Linked DNA regions of Homo sapiens: region 1 is linked to region 2. Evidence: promoter capture Hi-C in 16 types of primary human blood cells and fetal thymus (Javierre and others, 2016). All regions are on one chromosome and are shown on one strand. The core of a region is centred on a gene start or on the middle of the fragment in contact, and the rest is flanking DNA. Distances in the headings are between cores, read along the strand shown.

Region 1 (2,923 bases), core at 413-2,912, 250 kb after region 2:
CATATGACCAGCTCCACAGATGCAGAAAAAGCATTTGATAAAATTCAACGGTCATTTGTCAGAAAAAACTCTTAGCAAACTAGGAATGAAAAGATACTTCCGCAACCTGATGGAAGGTGTGTACAAACAAAGCTCAACAAAATTCTACAGTTCGCATCACACATCACCATGAAGAATAAATGCTTCCTCCCGAAGATTCAAAGCAAGGCAGGGATGTGAGCTTTCTCTTCAACATTAGACTGGAGGGCCTGCCCAGGGAAACTCAGCAGGAAAAAAAATGTTTAAGCTTACAAATGGAAAGAAAGAGATAGACCTGTCTTTATTCACAGATAATATTATATATGTTGGAAATGCTAAGGGATCTTTTAACTGCTTTACTAGAAAGCAAATTTAACAAGGTCACAGGATAAAAAGGCAATAGAGAAAGACACATTTCTATACACTGTAATGACTGATATTAAAAGTGATACCTTTGCAATACCATAAAAAACATCAAATACTTAGGAATACATTTAATAAAATACATGTAAAGCCTCTACACTAAAGGCTATAAAATAATGTGTACAGGCCAGGCACAGTGGCTCATGCCTCTAATACTAATACTTTGGGAGGCGAGGCGGGAGGATCACCTGAGGTCAGGAGTTTGAGACCAGCCTGGCCGACATGATGAAACCCTGTCTCTACTAATAAAAAAATACAAAAATTAGCCAGGTGTGGTGGTGGGTGCCTGTAATCCCAGCTACCCAGGAGGCTGAGGTAGGAGAATAGCTGAAACCCGGGAGGTGGAGGCTGCAGTGAGCAGAGATCATGCCACTGCACTCCAGCCTGGGAGCCAGGCTCCATCTCTAATGATAATAATAATAATAATAGTAATGTGTACTGAGATAAAATAAAGACGAAATAAGCAAACGGGGAGAGATACCATGATCATTGACTGGAAGATTCAATATTTATAAGATAGCAATTTGCCCCAAATTTATCTAATGATTCAATGCAATCCCAATCAAAATCTCGACAAACCAATCTATAGTGGCAAAAAGCAAATCGGTGATTGCCTAGGGGCCAGGGTGGGTTGGGCATTAAGGAAACAGAAGAGTCAGAGGAAAACTCCTGGGGCTGAGGCTCATGTCCATTGTCTTGATTGTGACGATGGCCCACACATGAACACACGCTTCATAACTTACTAAACTGTGTACTTTAAATGTGTGTCATCTATTATATGTCAATTATAGCTCAATGATAATGTTTTTTAAATAATTTAATCTCAGTAGTCATTTTTTTTGTTTTGATTTGTTTTTTTTGTTTTGTTTTGTTTCAGACAGTCTCACTCTGTCACCCAAGCTGGAGGGCAGTGGCACAGTCTCAGCTCACTGCAACCTCTGTCTCCCGGGCTTAAGCAATCCTCCTGCCTCAGCCTTGTGAGTCACTGGGACTACAGGCACGCACCACCACGCCCAGCTAATTTTTTTGTATTTTTGGTAGAGACGGGGTTTCACCATATTGCTCAGGCTGGTCTTGAACTCCTGACCTCAAGTGATCCACCCACCTCGGCCTCCCAAAGTGCTGAGATTACAGGTGTCAGCCACCGCGCCCAGCCCTAGCAGTCATTTTTAAAGTTAAAAGTTGATTCTTTTTTAAAAATAAAGAAAAGAAGTTGAATTGGCTCACAATTCTGCATGGCACCAACATCTGCTTGGCTTCCGTCAAGGACCTCTGGAACTTTGCAGTCATAGCAGAAGGTGAAGGAGAGGCAGGCACCTCACATGGCAAGAGCAGAGCAAAGGAGATGGGGGAGCAGCAACGCACACTTTTCCTTTTTTTTTTTTTTTTTAATTTTTTTTTTTTGGAGATGGAGTCTCACTCTGTTGCCCAGGCTGGAGTGCAGTGGCACGATCTTTGCTCACTGCAACCTCCGCCTCATGGGTCCAAGCGATTCTTCTGCCCCAGCCTCCCGAGTAGCTGGGACTACGGGCACGTGCCACCATGCCCAGCTAATTTTTGTATTTTTTTTTTAGTAGAGACAGGGTTTCACCATATTGGCCAAGCTGATCTCGAACTCTTGACCTCGTGATTCACCCGCCTCGGCCTCCCAAAGTGCTGGGATTACAGGCGTGAGCCACCACGCCAGGCCGCGACACACACTTTTAAACAAGCAGGTCTCATGAGTACGCACTCACTACGCGGAGAACAGCACCAAGCCATAAGGGATCCACCCCCATGATCCAATCACCTCCCATCAGGCCCCACCTGCAACATTGAAGGTAATCAACGTGAGATTTGAGTGGGGACAAATATCCAAACTACATCATTCTGCCCCTGGCGCCCCCAAATCTCATGTCCTTCTCACATTGCAAAATACAATCATACCTTCCCAATAGTCCCCTGAAATCTTAACTTATTCCACCATTAACTCAAAAGCCCCACATCTGGTCTAAAGTCTCACCTGAGACCCACTCCTCAGTACAGTTTCTGTGTTAGACCACTCATGCATTGCTATAAAGAAATACATGAGACTGAATAATTCATAAAGAAAAGATAATTAATTGGCTCATGGTTCTGCAGACTGTACAACCACGGCTTCAACATCTGCTTAGCTTCTGTGAGGGCCTCTGGAATCTTACAAGCATCACAGTTGATTCCAAAACGTATGCAGAAATTGGAAAACATTGAATAGCCAAAAAAAAAAGTTCAAAAAGAAAAATAAGTTTGGAGGACTTTTACGACATAATTTCAAGACTTGCTATAAAGTTATGATAGTGAAGACAGTACAATAATGGCATAAACATAGACAAATAAAAGCACTAGAACAGAATAGAGGCCAGAAGGAAACTCATGTTTATACGGTCAATTGATTTCTTTTTACCTTAGGTGCTAAAGCAAGTTAAGGAAAAGAAAAAACTTTTTAACAAATGGTACCCAAACA
Region 2 (2,794 bases), core at 150-2,649:
CCCATCAAAGTTCTCTGCATGTGCTACTGTCTCGAATGTTGGAAGTAGGCACCACTGTGATCCCATTTTACAGATGAGGAAGCTGAGGCCTGGGGAAAGGGGGACTTGAGCGAGAACACACAGCTGAAAGGGGCTTAGCTGGAAACCCCAACCCTGCTGAAGGCCCTAGATGCCCCACTGTCCTCCAGGGGGCCACACTGGGTCACAGGGCGAGGGGCTCAGGCCAGACTCAGTTTCCTCCCCTATTAAAGGGAGAGCTTGGCCGAGACAATCATGGGCCTTCTTCAGCTCAACAACCCTTTGTTTCTCTCTGTCCTCCTGAGTTATTTGGTTGCACCATGGAGATAAAACAACCCCTGGAAATCCCAGAGGCATTTTTTTCCCACTGGAGAAACACAAAAATATCACATGAAGAATGAATCACTTAAAGTGTCAGGGCAGGAAGAGGAAAGACAGGCATGGCGCTCGCCTCGGGGTGGGGGTGGCTCTGGGTTTCTCTTCAGCTCCCTCAGCCTCCCTGGTCCCCAGAACCCCTTCCTCACTGGAGTGAAGAGAAGCCAAAGCCCTAAGCCTCAGTTTCCCAATCTGTAAATGGGGACAACAAACCTGCCTTGAAGGCGTATTCGGAGGGGCCAATGCATTCATTTGTTCGTTCATTCATTCATTCATTCATCTATTCACTTATTTCGTACCGGTGTGATGCTGGACTGGGACTGCAGACTCTGAAGTGGGTCGAACAGACCCACCTCACCCCCGTGAAGCCAACCAAATGCCCTCCAGGCCATGACTAGGGCATCCTGAGAGCACTCCCTAGGCCATGCCGGACCCTCCCCCGAGCCTTTGGCCTTCTCTCCAACCCCTCTCTATGCAAGGCTCTTGACACAAGGACACTGAGGCACAGAGACGGTCAGCAACTTGCTCAAGGTCACACAGCAGGTAGGTAGTAGCACCAGCATCTGTGCACCCCCACAGGGCTCCCACCCCTCTAGATCAGAGCCTGCTCCCCATCTTGCCCCACTGGCATAGCCGTCACCCCGGCCCCTCCCATTCTTCTGTGACTAGGAGTCACTTAGCAGCCTTGCCTGGCTTCTCCCTTAGACCCAGTGCTTAGCCAGGGCAGGGACCCCAGGGTCAGCGTGAAGGAACAGAGGTGCCCCTGCACAGTGAGGACCTGGAAACCTCCACAGGCTGCTCCTTACCTGCCGAGCCCTGTGACTGAGGGATCAGAAGCCCCCTCCGCTGGCTGCGGTCTCCCTGCAGCTGCTGGCCTCTTCCCCGGCTCCTGGTTGCCACCAACCTTAAACCCCAATAAAAGGAGAGCAACTTGGTCGAGCCTTGTATAGGCAAAAGAGTGTTTTCCAGCGCAGGCTGGCCTCTGTGTGCTGACAAGAATTCAGTGTGCTCCTCAGGGCGGGGAGTGGGGCTAGGGCGCTGAGTCAGCCCTGCAGGAGTCCAGCTCCCGCCTGGGCCTAGGGCCGCCACCTCCCAGGCCCAGGATGGCAGCGGCTGCTCCCGCAGTCCCCACGCACTCCAGCCTCTGGTCTTACAGCCTTGTGCATCCTCAGAGCACCAGCAAGAGCCCCATTTTACAGGTGAGCAAACTAGAGACACTCCCTGTGAGATCCCACAGCTAGAAGCAGCAGGGGCTTAGACCCAGGGCACCGGGCTCCAGGTCCGCACCTCAGCAGATGCTTGGCACAATACATGTGGGTTCCCTCCCGTGGCCCTCAGTCTCTGTTGGGCAATGGAGGTCAGTGGCACCACTGCACAAGCCCCTCTGGCCAGCATGGCCCGGGGAGGGGTGTGGGTAAAACAAACGGTCCCCACACCAGCCCGGGGAGGAAGGGTAGCTGGGACCCGAGAGCCCACAGAGGGTGTGTGGCACCTGCCTGACTCCAAGCTGGGCTGATCTTCCTGCTGTTGCCCCCCTACCCCTGGCCTGTCCCCACCCAGCAGCAGAGGGTCCTCCCTGCCAGTAGGAATGGGGTGGGGATGGGGCAGGAACAGGGCGGGGGATGCCCACACCTGCCACTGTTCGAAACACATCAGTGGCTTCCATGACTGTCTGGACACAGCCCAGGGGCCTGGCTGGCCTCTGCAGCCACACTTCCTGGGTGCCAGGCACCCCCCCAGCCCATGGCCGTCTCCCACCCCTGGGCCTTCGTGCATCGTGGTACCTTGGCGGCGCCCTTGGCTGGCTTCTGGGTGGCATTTAAACGCAGCCATAAAGGAGGCCAGCCCTCCTCTGCCTCCCACCCATCCCTGGAAGCCTGCCCATCCTGAGCCAGGCCAGAAATAAACCTCCTTTTTCCATTCCTTTCGGTGGACAGAGAGCGAGTTCAGACTGGTCTGGGTGCCCCTCATCTAACCACGGTCCCAACAATGGCAGCCCAGAGCGATGGGTGCCACGATGGGAAACCAGGGGGCTATGGGCGCCCAGAGTGCCTGATGCAGCCTGACGGGGTAGGGGCCGGGAGTGGGGGTGGTATTTATTTAATCTTCATGATTAGGAGGGGCTGTGATTATCCCCAATTTACAGATGCGGAAACTGAGGTACAGAGTTTCAGTAACTCGTCCTGGGTCGCCTGGCTGGGGACTCAGACCAGGGGGTCTGGTGTGGACACCTGAAGGATGAGTCGGGCGGTGGGGCGGGGGTGGGGGTGGGGGAGTGTTCCTGGCAGAGGGAACAAGGCACACAAAGTTCCTCCTGCCTCTTGTCTGGGGCTCAGCATAGCAGCAGAGAAACAAAAGGGCTCTGAGCTTGGGGTTTGAACACGGGTTCAAGTCCCTTGCC

The links. Contacts are between HindIII fragments. The CHiCAGO score rates a contact against its expected background, and 5 or more counts as called.
Region 1: a fragment that was not itself captured here is called in contact with the fragment with the promoter of SHISAL1 in region 2 in 7 of 17 cell types (total CD8 T cells, naive CD8 T cells, M1 macrophages and 4 more); the score reaches 8.2 in total CD8 T cells.

What each region holds. Positions count from the first base shown.
Region 1 is chr22:44,557,452-44,560,374 of GRCh38, forward strand. No RefSeq gene overlaps it. Among named protein-coding and RNA genes, the nearest start is that of LINC00207, 10 kb to the right of the region's middle. The HindIII fragment of the contact is 2,757 bases long and covers 285-2,923 here.
Region 2 is chr22:44,311,552-44,314,345 of GRCh38, forward strand. It overlaps SHISAL1 (shisa like 1), which reads right to left and starts at 1,400. Exons shown (of 5, transcript NM_001099294.2): 1 at 1,200-1,400. It overlaps LOC101927499 (a long non-coding RNA gene), which reads left to right and starts at 1,460. Exons shown (of 2, transcript XR_244444.3): 1 at 1,460-1,592. The HindIII fragment of the contact is 15,394 bases long and covers 1-2,794 here.